4 separate regions of the Homo sapiens genome follow, and regions 2, 3 and 4 are each linked to region 1. Evidence: promoter capture Hi-C in 16 types of primary human blood cells and fetal thymus (Javierre and others, 2016). All regions are on one chromosome and are shown on one strand. Each heading gives the region's core, a stretch centred on a gene start or on the middle of the fragment in contact. The rest is flanking DNA. Distances are from core to core; before and after follow the strand shown. Region 1 holds the start of MAP3K7 (mitogen-activated protein kinase kinase kinase 7). Region 2 overlaps RRAGD (Ras related GTP binding D). Region 3 has its middle 9.4 kb from the start of PNRC1. Region 4 overlaps RNGTT (RNA guanylyltransferase and 5'-phosphatase).

The links. Contacts are between HindIII fragments. The CHiCAGO score rates a contact against its expected background, and 5 or more counts as called.
Region 2: a fragment that was not itself captured here is called in contact with the fragment with the promoter of MAP3K7 in region 1 in 5 of 17 cell types (fetal thymus, activated CD4 T cells, total CD8 T cells and 2 more); the score reaches 7.7 in fetal thymus.
Region 3: a fragment that was not itself captured here is called in contact with the fragment with the promoter of MAP3K7 in region 1 in 1 of 17 cell types (fetal thymus); the score reaches 5.9 in fetal thymus.
Region 4: a contact is called between a fragment that was not itself captured here and the fragment with the promoter of MAP3K7 in region 1, in 7 of 17 cell types (non-activated CD4 T cells, fetal thymus, total CD4 T cells and 4 more). The highest score is 9.3, in non-activated CD4 T cells.

What each region holds. Positions count from the first base shown.
Region 1 is chr6:90,585,803-90,588,502 of GRCh38, reverse strand. MAP3K7 (mitogen-activated protein kinase kinase kinase 7) reads left to right here and starts at 1,431. Exons shown (of 17, transcript NM_145331.3): 1 at 1,431-1,739. The coding sequence starts at 1,620. LOC124901363 (a long non-coding RNA gene) reads right to left here and starts at 1,709. Exons shown (of 2, transcript XR_007059680.1): 1 at 548-1,709. RefSeq lists silencers at 1,299-1,495, 1,492-1,611. The HindIII fragment of the contact is 2,842 bases long and covers 1,000-2,700 here.
Region 2 is chr6:89,406,681-89,409,649 of GRCh38, reverse strand. The region is part of intron 1 of RRAGD (Ras related GTP binding D); the gene reads left to right. Among named protein-coding and RNA genes, the nearest start is that of RRAGD, 4.1 kb to the left of the region's middle. The HindIII fragment of the contact is 4,923 bases long and covers 1-2,969 here.
Region 3 is chr6:89,088,647-89,091,644 of GRCh38, reverse strand. It overlaps the pseudogene RN7SL336P. Among named protein-coding and RNA genes, the nearest start is that of PNRC1, 9.4 kb to the right of the region's middle. The HindIII fragment of the contact is 7,002 bases long and covers 1-2,998 here.
Region 4 is chr6:88,957,667-88,960,519 of GRCh38, reverse strand. All of the region lies in intron 1 of RNGTT (RNA guanylyltransferase and 5'-phosphatase), which reads left to right. Among named protein-coding and RNA genes, the nearest start is that of RNGTT, 4.5 kb to the left of the region's middle. The HindIII fragment of the contact is 1,322 bases long and covers 809-2,130 here.

The DNA.
Region 1 (2,700 bases), core at 182-2,681:
CACGCATCATTTCACATGCCCTGATTTCTCACTTGGACAACCAACTGGGTGATGGCATCCTTAAGTGACATAGGAAAATAACATAGGAATATATTTGTGGTGGGTGACAACTTTTGAATTTGCTGTGGTATCTTGAAGTTTAGGTGTTTGTCTAAGTAGAGATGACCAATAGGTCCAGAATTCAGGAAAAATCTTGAGTATTTGGAGATTAGGAGTCATCATTATAAAAATAGTATGAGAAACAGAGACCTTGGGTAAGAGCATGCAAAGAGAGAGTGTACAGTGAAAAGAAATTATCGTTTCTTTCATTTTTTTATCCACTCATCAAACTGTCACTGCGTGTCACTAGAACTACGAATAAAAAGTGACAGAATGTTTCCCAGGAGTTTGTAACTTCTTGATGGTCAAATCCAATGATCTATTTGCAATCCCAAATGTGTTTAACATAATTCCACAGTTAGGCTTTATGTCAAACGGACTATATAAAATTCAACAGTTAGTTTAAAACTAAAACTTGTGCTGGTAGTACAACATGAGCAATACTGACCATCTTGGGGACAGAATGATCTAGTTTGTGAGGACCATAATTGCTTTAAACTCTCAGCGTGTTTTCTCATGTCCTGAAAATGGTGACAAAAATATTCGATTTTCAAGGCGACTGTTGATGATTCATTTACCAATCTAAAGCACTAGTGCCCCGCACTCGTAATCCATAACTTGAGATGAACACACCAAATTATAAATATCTTATTCACCTAATCCGTGGAAAGTTTGTAACACCAAAATATTAACTTCTGTTCTTGATCACTCAGCCTCCATAGTTATTCATGTTGCATGATCTGATTCGCTCTTTTAGAATTTCTCATAGCGTCAGGTACTAGCTCAAAATAACAGGAGCAACTGCTTCTTTCCATATCCCACATTGAGGAAAACACATTTTGCAAGCCGTCTTAAAGAAACAGGTCAACTTAGTTTAGGGATGAAACTTAAAAGTAAGCTTCGTCACAAAAAACACAGTTCAACACCACCTCGCCCGGCTGCAGGCAGCTCAGAGGACAGGAAGTGAGGCCAAGACATATTTCACGCAGCACAGACTAAACCCCAGCTTTTATCTTTCCCGCTGGTCCTTAAGGGACCAACCGTACTGATTTTCCGTCATGTTCCGCGCCACTTCCGTTCGCGCACTTTAATTACGTCAGGCGTCCTCTCTCGCGGTATCATCCGGTTGCTGAGGCCCTGTAATAAAGGTCTCGCGAAATTTGTTCTAGAGGTCCAAGTTTGCTTCTTAGCTTACTCCACCCCACCCCCAACCTGTCCCTCCTTTTCTTTCCAAGTCACAAAATTCTCCCCTCCCCTACCCCGGAGTTTACGGCCCTCCTCCTGTTTCCGATTTCAGCCCGGAACCGGAAGTGTAGTGGGCGGGGCCCGTCGGCGGAAAACGCAGCGGAGCCAGAGCCGGACACGGCTGTGGCCGCTGCCTCTACCCCCGCCACGGATCGCCGGGTAGTAGGACTGCGCGGCTCCAGGCTGAGGGTCGGTCCGGAGGCGGGTGGGCGCGGGTCTCACCCGGATTGTCCGGGTGGCACCGTTCCCGGCCCCACCGGGCGCCGCGAGGGATCATGTCTACAGCCTCTGCCGCCTCCTCCTCCTCCTCGTCTTCGGCCGGTGAGATGATCGAAGCCCCTTCCCAGGTCCTCAACTTTGAAGAGATCGACTACAAGGAGATCGAGGTGGAAGAGGTGAGCGAGGCCCGGCATGGAGACGCCGGTCCCGGCCTGCCCCGCCCCCGCCTCTGCCTGGTGCCGGCTCTGAAGGTGCCTCCCGGGGCCCCTCTAATTCGCGGGACCCTGCGGGGTCCACCCGGGAGACCCCACAGCCCTCAGTAACGTGGGAGTGGGGGTTACTCTCTGAGCTCAACTGCTCGGGAGTAGCTGCCTTTTTTCCTCTCTTGGGTACTCTTGATTTTGGATTTGATATTCCGGTGATAAACAGGAGAATGAACTGGTGAGATAGTGTGGTCCACCAGTTCTCGTATCTGTAAGTAGTAGTTTCAGCGAAGATCGTAGCCGTTCTGGAGTTTCAGTCCGCTGGACGTAATGTTCTTTTTTTTTTTTTTTTTTTTTTGAGACGGAGTCTCGCTCTGTCGCCCAGGCCGGACTGCGGACTGCAGTGGCGCAATCTCGGCTCACTGCAAGCTCCGCTTCCCGGGTTCACGCCATTCTCCTGCCTCAGCCTCCCGAGTAGCTGGGACTACAGGCGCCCGCCACCGCGCCTGGCTAATTTTTTGTATTTTTAGTAGAGACGGGGTTTCACCTTGTTAGCCAGGATGGTCTCGATCTCCTGACCTCATGATCCACCCGCCTCGGCCTCCCAAAGTGCTGGGATTACAGGCGTGAGCCACCGGGCCCGGCCGGACGTAATGTTCTTAATGGCCAAAGATTGTATTATATTCGACTTCTACTTCAGTACCTGGCATGTAGGGGATGCTCAATAAATGCTTGTTAAATTAGTAGATCATCAAGTCTAATAAAGTGTTTCCCTTAGCACCGAATGGTTCTCAATTTCTCCGATACCGCACAGCAATACTCGTAATGTTTAAATGCTCGGCTTTCAGTTGGGCTAATGTAGGTGAATTTCACCATAAGTAACATAGACTGGTCTACGATCAAAAGATGTTTCAAGTAGCATATTCTGAAGAGA
Region 2 (2,969 bases), core at 105-2,604, 1.2 Mb after region 1:
GATATGGTCTGGGGAGTGGGGATTGGGAGGAGGAGGTTGGGAGTTGTGACTTCCCTTCCTGTGCCCTTCAAAAGGCTGATTCACGTGTTGCATTATAATCTTGTTTTATTTTTGGTAAAATTTACATTTACCTACTCTCAAACTTAAGAAATAGAATGTAGGGAAAAAAAGGAGTTATTCTGAGAAAAGATGTACTTTGAACCACTAGCAAAGCATTTCTCTAATGAACCCCCACTCCCCTTTCCCCTTCCTAATAGCTTGGTTTAGTGCCTGCACTTAGTGGAGACGTGGGACTTTTTCCACTAAGTTCAGAAATCTACCCTGGTGGGTGGGAGGCTGAGGGTGGGATGTGGGACCAACTAGTATTGCCAGTTAAGTTGCAAAGCAATTTATCAGGAGCTGTGCAAGAGAAGTGGACTAAAGGTGGATATGTAATGCAATTTTCATTTCCCTCAGTCTGTAGGACTTATAAAGGAACCTCTGGTCTTATTTTTAAACCGAGTATGCCTTGTAAATTTTACCACATTGTACTGAGTTTGAAAACATAGGGCAACTAAGGTGAGACTTAAATTGCACTTCTCTGGCTTCCACTCCATATTTTATTCATGAATAGCAAAAGTGTTCTCAGGCACATTAGTTCTGTTAGGGCAGATTTGGGCACCTCTCAACCTTCCTTTCATGGTAGTTAATTGCAGGTAAGGTGAGTCTCACCTTCAATCCCCACACTCCAGATAAAACTACCAGAGAGGAGGGAATGGTTAGGCCGTTAAAAACAATTGCACCAAAAATAATGATTATTTTTAGATTCATGGACTTTAAATCTTTTGATAAATTACTGTGCTTTAAAAACTGTAATAACAGGGAAAGCAATTACAAGATCATATTTAATCAGAAAGTAAAATTGTTTTCCCCCCAAAACCCCTCCCATTTTTTAGGAGAAACTTGGCTAACGTAAGCTGCTCACCCACAGTCCAGTGAAGTTCGGTCTTTGCCTTCATAGCAGCCTGTGCGCACCCTTAGGGTCTGAGGAAGTGACTGTGTAGGTGGTTTCTGGAGGCATGAAAGATCCAGGGTCTTCCTTCCTGAAGGATGTAGATGGGGTGAATCCAGCAATTCATATGTATTAATCATTAGTTCATTAATGTTAGCCTTTTGTGGGGAAGGGACTGGGTCTCTCTATATTGCCTAGGCTGGTCTCGGACTTGTGGGCTCAAGCAATCTTCCTGCTTCAGCCTCCCAAGTAGCTAGGATTATAGGCATGCATGACTGTGCATGGCTTTTTCCTAAAATAATTTTAAAAATATTAGGGAATTCACCTTTTCATTGTTCCTTGGAAGTAAGTAGAGATAACAGTTATACTGATACTGAAATCATGGCTCAGAGATACCAGGGGGCTTTTCTACTGCCCTATCATGAGCTAGAAATGAGCGAAGTATTTAGAAGAGGATCAAGTATATGGAAATGTAAGCCCCTTTTCTTGTAATTCTGCCTTATCCAAAAAGAGCTGGCTTGACTACAGCCCTGGACACAGCTTATCTCTTAGATTTCCTTCTGGCCCTGGAAATACAGAAGAGTTGGAACAGATGAAACTACATAATAGGTTAAAATGATGTGCCCAAAGTTAAACTTTAGGTAAATACTTGTTCGAATGCCTGTATTTAGAGAGTATCTTTCTATATCAGATGTTTTATAAACCTGTGTCAGTGATTCAGGGCATCAGAGAGTACTGACTCTCTACTTTTATTAGCGATCTCTTCCATTTTAATACTAGATAGAGGGTAGTCTAATGGAAACGGGAGGCACAAACAGCAAGTTCTGGATAAGAGCCGATGACTTTGGGTTTGAGAGATCATCTTTTGTCTTTCAAAGATAACTGAGTCTGCCCCAAGTTCACCCCCTGTGTTATTCAATCCTCCCCCAGCCCATAGTAAATGCTGGTGACAATCAATTTCACTTTTAGCACAGACACTTCGTTCCTGCTCATTTTTCTTCTTTCTTTCCTTCTTTTGAGATGGAGCCTCACTCTGTTGCCCAGGCTGGAGTGCAGTGGCATGATCTCGGCTCACTGCAACCTCCACCTTCTGGGTTCAGGTGATTCTCCTGCCTCAGCCTCCCCAATAGGTGGGATTGATTACAGGTGCCCACCACAATGCCCAGCTAATTTTTGTATTTTTAGTAGAGATGAGGTTTCACCATGTTGACCAGGCTGGTCTTAAACTCCTGACCTCAAGTGATCCACCTGCCTTGGCCTCCCAAAGTACTGGGATTACAGGCATGAGCCACCGCGCCCGGCCTCTTCCTTCTTTCTTCTCTACCTCCTTTATTCTTTTGGTATCCTTTTATTTTTTAAAAAAATATTTTTTGTTCTCCCTCCTGTGCCAGAGCCTTAGAGTTCTCTTGTGATGGCCTTTCCTGGTTCTGCTGTGACACTGCAGACAAAAAGTTTCTTCACTCCTGGGCTACAGGGTCCAGGGTGCTTGCTGGTCGACCTTCTCCTCTTGTGGTCCTCTGAGAAAGACTTCGGCTCCATTTCTCAGTGTATAAAATAGAGGACTGCGTAAAGCCAACCTTAGTGCACTCTCAAAGTGATTGTTAAAAAGTTTGTAAGAATACCTTTCCCTTTTTGCAGGCACATTGGTAAATCAGAACATTTTTACCAATGTAAAACGGGAAAAGTTCGCTTGTCCCCCTTGCAGGGTGTGTGATGGGGGTTTGGCTAGATTCTTAAGTGCTCTGCTGCTCAAACCTCTAGGGGAGCACACAGACAGGCAAGCTGTGGGGCTCTGATCCCACGACAGTGTCTAGGGGTGGATGTTTACAGCTCCTGAAGCCCCAGTGGGCATGTGTTACAGGGTGCTCTTTTAGTTTTGCCATCTATGGGCTTGTGTTAACCAGCTCAGTTAGACCCTCTACCTTGTTGCAAGGACCGAGTGCTTTCTGTATCCTGGGTTCTTGCCTTGGTGTACCGG
Region 3 (2,998 bases), core at 146-2,645, 1.5 Mb after region 1:
TAAAAACATGGATGAAAATTTTATATTCTAAAGTACAAATAGTCCTTTATATACAAAGCTCTGAGCTGCCTATCAGTGGTCAAATGTAACTGATACTCATTTGGGCTTTTGTGACCACACCTTGTCCACCCTTTATTTTGACCAAAAGATTGTAGTTTCAGTGTCTATCATAGAAAGTGGAACTACATCACTTAAGGAATAATTTCATACAATGCTTTTAGCATCTCATTTACTCCACTGGTGTTAACTCAGCATTAAAGGCTTTAAAAGGCAGGAAACAGTGAAATGTTAAGAGTTGCACACTGCCTTACACTCTACTCCCTAGTCACTTCAGTGCTAAGTAGCCCTCAGTCAGCCCCTTTCTTTTCTGGGGACATGCATCTTTTTTTTTTTTCTTTTTTAAGAGACAGGGTCTTGTTATGTTGCCCAGACTGGAGTGCAGTGGCTATTCGCAGGCATGATCCCACTACTGATCAGCGCAGGAGTTTTGACCTGCTTGTTTCCAATCTGGGCCAGTTCACCCCTCATTAGTAAATCTGGTGGTCCCCCTTCCTGGGAGGTCACCATACTGATGCTGAACTTAGTGTGGACCCCCAACTGGCATAGCACAGTACAGCCCAGAACTCTTGGACTCAAGCCATCCTCCTGCCGCAGCTTCCCAAGTAGTTGGGACTACAGGCACGCGCCACCGTACCTGGCGACATTCTTCATAAACACATTTCCTTTTGCTGCTTGCAGTTTGTTATTCCACTTTCATTTCTTTAACTCTCTTCTCAAACCACGGACAGTTATAAATCCCTTTCAGAATCTTTGTAGAAATAGTCTCACTACGTTGCCAGGTCTCAAATGCCTGGCCTCAAGTGATCCTACTGCCTCGGCCTCCCAAAGTGCTGGGATTACAGGCGTGAGCACCAAACCAAGCCCTTTTCAGAATCTTTATAATCCCAATTTACCTCTTTATCCTTCTCTAATTATTCTTCAAGTATTAACATTTATGTTAATGTTAACATTAACATAACAGATAACATTAACATTAAATGTTATCTGTCACATTTCCTAAATAAGCCAGTGCTTAAATATGTTATTGTTTCTCTAATCTTTCAGCTCTTATTTACAATGGCCTTGGTGTTTCTGTCATTAACTAGAGTTCTGTTTTTTTAGATGTTATAACCAACTAGCCAACCTACTTGAAAATGCAGAGGAAAACATTCAGAAGGTTCAAAGTTTACAACCTCATAAGATCAGCTTATTTGTGCTGTATGCTACATATAAGTGAGCTTTTAGAATTATTAGTAAAAAAAAAAAAAAAAAAGCAAATATTCAAATTATATATAATGTTGGAGTGAACCAGTAAAGCAGCCTTAATTTTCCCTAACTCTATTTTCTTTAACACTTTATTATAAAAATCTTCAGTATAAAAAAATGTTAAATGTAGCTGAATTTTAAAGTGGAACATCCATATACCCACTACCTAGATTCTACAGTTAGCAGTTAATTACACCTGCTTTGCCACATATATTTCCATCTATCCCCCAAGTATTTTGAATTTAACAAAGTATTTCAAAAAAAACCTGGAATATTCATACATGAGGTATTCTAATTAGCTAAAGTACAGCCAGAAAACCTTGGTTGAATACCTTTCATAAACAATTCTGTTTTCTTATTTTTGAAATTCAGGATCTGGTCTCAGGCATCACATGATTACAGGAACTTAAGAAATAGACCTGGATGGTTAAGGAGACTGGACTGAATGAACAGTGACTCTAAGAGCCTTGAAAGTCTGGTAGAAAAGGGACATTTCCAGTCTTTGATAGTAATCCTTTCTAAAATTTGAGAGCATTAAATGCCTAGTCATTTGAAGAGTAAGGTTAATTTTGCTCAACTTTGGAAGGGATTGTTGAAAGCCCTTGTTTTATAGTTAGAAAATCCCCTCAAATTGTAACTTATCCAAAGGTTTGATGGGACCAAAAAGCCCTCTGATTCCATGTTGTCAAGTAAAGTGAAATAATAAAGATCTTGTATTTAAAAATCTTACTGTTAGTAGGCAATTGTGAGTTCAATTTAAATCAAACATTTGCAATTGGAAATAACCAAAAATCATCAAAATGGCTACAAAAAGGAAGAAATCACTTAAAAACCCTGAAAACAAAAAGGGAAAACGTTTTCGGCTGGGCTTGGTGGCTCACTCCTGTAATACCAACACTTTGCGAGGCCGAGGCCAGTGGATCACTTGAGCTCAGGAGTTTGAGACCAGCCTGGACAACACAGTGAAACCACATGTCCACGTCCCTGTAGTCCCAACTACTCAGGAGGCTGAGGTGGGAACATCACTTGAAACCAGGAGGCAGAGGTTGCAATGAACTGTGATCGCACCACTCATTGCACTCCAACCTGCATGACAGAGCAAAACCCTGTCTCAAATAGAAAAGGCCCAGTGGGGTGGCTTATGCCTGTAATCCCAGCACCTTGGGAGGCTGAGACAGGCAGATCACTTGAGGCCAGGAGTTCGAGACCAGCCTGGCCAACATGGCGAAACCCTGTGTTTACTAAAACTATCAAAGTTAGCCAAACAGGGCGGCGTGCACCTGTAGTCCCAGCTACTTGGGAAGCTGAGGCAGAATCACTTGAACCCAGGAGGTGGAGGTTGCAGTGAGCCAAGATTGCACCACTGCACTCCAGCTTGGATGACAGAGTGAGACTCTGTCTCCAAAAAAAGAAAACATTTCTACTTGCCATCCCTTGCCCAAGATCCTAAAATGCCAAGATGCCAAGAACACATTTGTAATTTGCATTTGACAATGTCAGATTAACAAACTCTAATCTTGGAATAAGAGAACTATCTGTAATAATTTAGTAGGAGCAGCCATGTATATATAACCAGCTTTGGAGGAGTGTGATTATCATCTAGTGTCTTTACAACCAGACATAACACATATTTTTCTGAATGCTAATTGTATTAGACTAAGAAAAATTACTTAACTTTCCTGAATCTTTTCTT
Region 4 (2,853 bases), core at 220-2,719, 1.6 Mb after region 1:
TCGGGTGATCCGCCTGCCTTGGCCTCCCAAAGTGTTGGCATTACAGGTGTGAGCTACCGCACCCAGCCCTCCCTAGTTTCTTAAAGATATATCATTCAACATAAAATTATTTCATATCTGCTATGTAAAGAGCTTACTAGGAACTGTGGGAATGTAAATATGAGACACAGCCAGGTGCATTGGCACATACTTGTGGTCCCAGGTACTCAGGATAGTGTGATGGTGATAGTGATGGTGATTTTGAAGTCATTTTATTTAGCAAATATTTAAATGTCTACTTTGTGCTAGTCCTGGGTGCTAGGGAGATGGCTAAGATATATTACCCTTAAAAAGCAGAGTCTCATGGGAGTAGCAAACCATCCATTTTAAGCACAGTTCTGTTGTAAAAAATGTAGCAATGACTCTATTGTGGTATATGATGGGAATCAGAGGTAATAAACCTAATTCTTTGAGGTTGAGGAAGAAGAGATGGGAAGGAAGAAGGAGATCAGGTGAGACTTCCCAGAGAAGGTCATACATGAATTATCTTCAGTAAATAGAAGTTTTCTAGATAAATAGTTGGCAGGGGGTGTTATTGAAAGTTTCTGTTAGGATAGGATGATGATGGGAGAGATAATAGACTGAAAAAGTGTCTTTGTTCTGGAAGATGTAAGTGAGGTTAAGAGGTTGGAGAATAGCCTGATCATACAGGCAAGTAGGGTGTGATAAGGTATCCTAATATTTATATGCTTTAAATTTTCAGTGGCATACAATTGCAGTTTTTTTTTTCAGCATCGAGATGAGATTATTTGAATCCAAGTTAAAAGCTTACTTTGACTTTTCTGTGTTTAATGAATTGATGGAGAAAAGAGTGGAAATGGAGAGACTAATTAGGAACTTGTTGTAGTCCAGGTGAAAGACAATAGTGATAGTTTAAAAGTGACAGATGAAGAGTAGAAGGCTAATTTGAGAGATATTAAGAAGGGAAAATGGACAGAACTTGATGTCGTATTTAGAATGAGGGAAAGAGGGTCAAAATTTAGTCTCAAATGTCTGGCTTATGCACATGAGATAGTTGATATTATTAGGGCTTACTGAGAGAGAAGCAGGTTGGAGGAGATATTAAGATCCTGATTGCTCAAATAGAGATCTTTAGTAAAGATCTTTTTAAAAAACATTTTTATGTTATTTCAGTAGTTTTTGGGGGACAGGTGGTTTTTGGTTACATGGATAAGTACTTCAGTGATGATTTCTGAGATTTTGGTGCACCTGTCACTCAAGGAGTGTACACTGTAGTAGTCTTTTATCCCTCATCCCCCCTCTCCACACTTCCCCCTGAGTACCCAAAGTCCATTATATCATTGTTATGTCTTTGCATTCTCATAGCTTAGCTCCCACTTACAAGTGAGAACACAGGATATTTGGGTTTCCATTCCTGAGTTACTTCACTTAGAATGATGGGGTCCAACTCCATCTAGGTTGCCATGAATGCCATTATTTCATTCCTTTTTATGGCTGAGTAGTATTCCATGGTATATATACATATCACATTTTCTTTATCCACTCATTGGTTCTTGGGCATTTAAGCTGGTTCCACATTTTTGCAATTGCAAATTGTGCTGCTGTAAACATGCCTGTGCAAGTGGCTTTTTCAGATAATGACTTATTTTCTTCTGGGTAGATACCCAGTAGTGGGATTGCTGGATCAAATGGTAGTTCTTCTAGTTCTTCAAGGAATCACCATACTGTTTTCCCTAGTGGTTGTAATAATTTACATTCCCACCAGCAGTGTAAAAGTGTTACCTTTTCCCCACATTCATGCCAACATCTAATATTTTTTGATATTTTAATTATGGCCATTCTTGCAGGAGTAAGGTGGTATCTCATTGTAGTTTTAATTTGCATTTCCTTGATAGTGATGTTGAACATTTTTCATATGCTTCTTGGCCAACTGTATATCTTCTTTTGTCTGTTCATGTCCTTTGTCCACTTTTTGATGGGATTATTTGTTTTTTTCTTGCTCATTTGTTTCAGTTCCTTGTAGATTCTGGATATTAGTTCTTTGTCAGATGCATAGTTTGCGAAGATTTTCTCCCACTCTGTGGGTTGTCTGTTTACTCTGCTGATTATTTCTTTTGCTGTGCAGAAGCTTTTTAGTTTAATTAGGTTCCATCTATTTATTTTTGTTTTTGTTGCATTTGCTTTTGGGTTCTTGGTCACGAACTCTGCCTAAGTCAATGTCTAGAAGAGTTTTTTCCAATGTTATCTTCTAGAATTTTTATGGTTTCAGATCTTACTTAAGTTTGAGTTGATCCATCTCCAGTTGACTTTGTATAAGGTGAGAGATGAGTTTCATTCTTCTACGCGTAGCTTGTTAGTTATCCCAGGACCATTTGTTGAATAGGGTGTCCTTTCCCCACTTTATGCTTTTGTTTGCTTTGTCAAAGATCAGTTGGCTGTAAGTGTTTGGCTTTCTTTCTGGGTTCTCTATTCTGTTCCATGGGTCTGTGTGCCTATTTTTATACCAGTACTATGCTGTTTTGGTTACTATAGTCTTGTAGTATAATTTGAAGTTGGGTAATGTGATGCCTTTACATTTGTTCTTTTTTGTTTGCTTACCTTGGCTATTTGGGCTCTTTTTTGGTTCAATGAATTTTAGGATTGCTTTTTCTGGTTCTGTGAAGAATGATGATGGTACTTTGATGGGAATTGCATTGAATCTAAAGATTGCTTTTGGCAGTATGATCATTTTCATAGTATTGATTATACCCATCTATGAGCATGGGATGTGTTTCCATTTGTTTGTGTCATCTGTGATTTATTTCAGTAGTGTTTTGTAGTTTTCCTTTTAGAGATCTTTCACCTCCTTGGTTA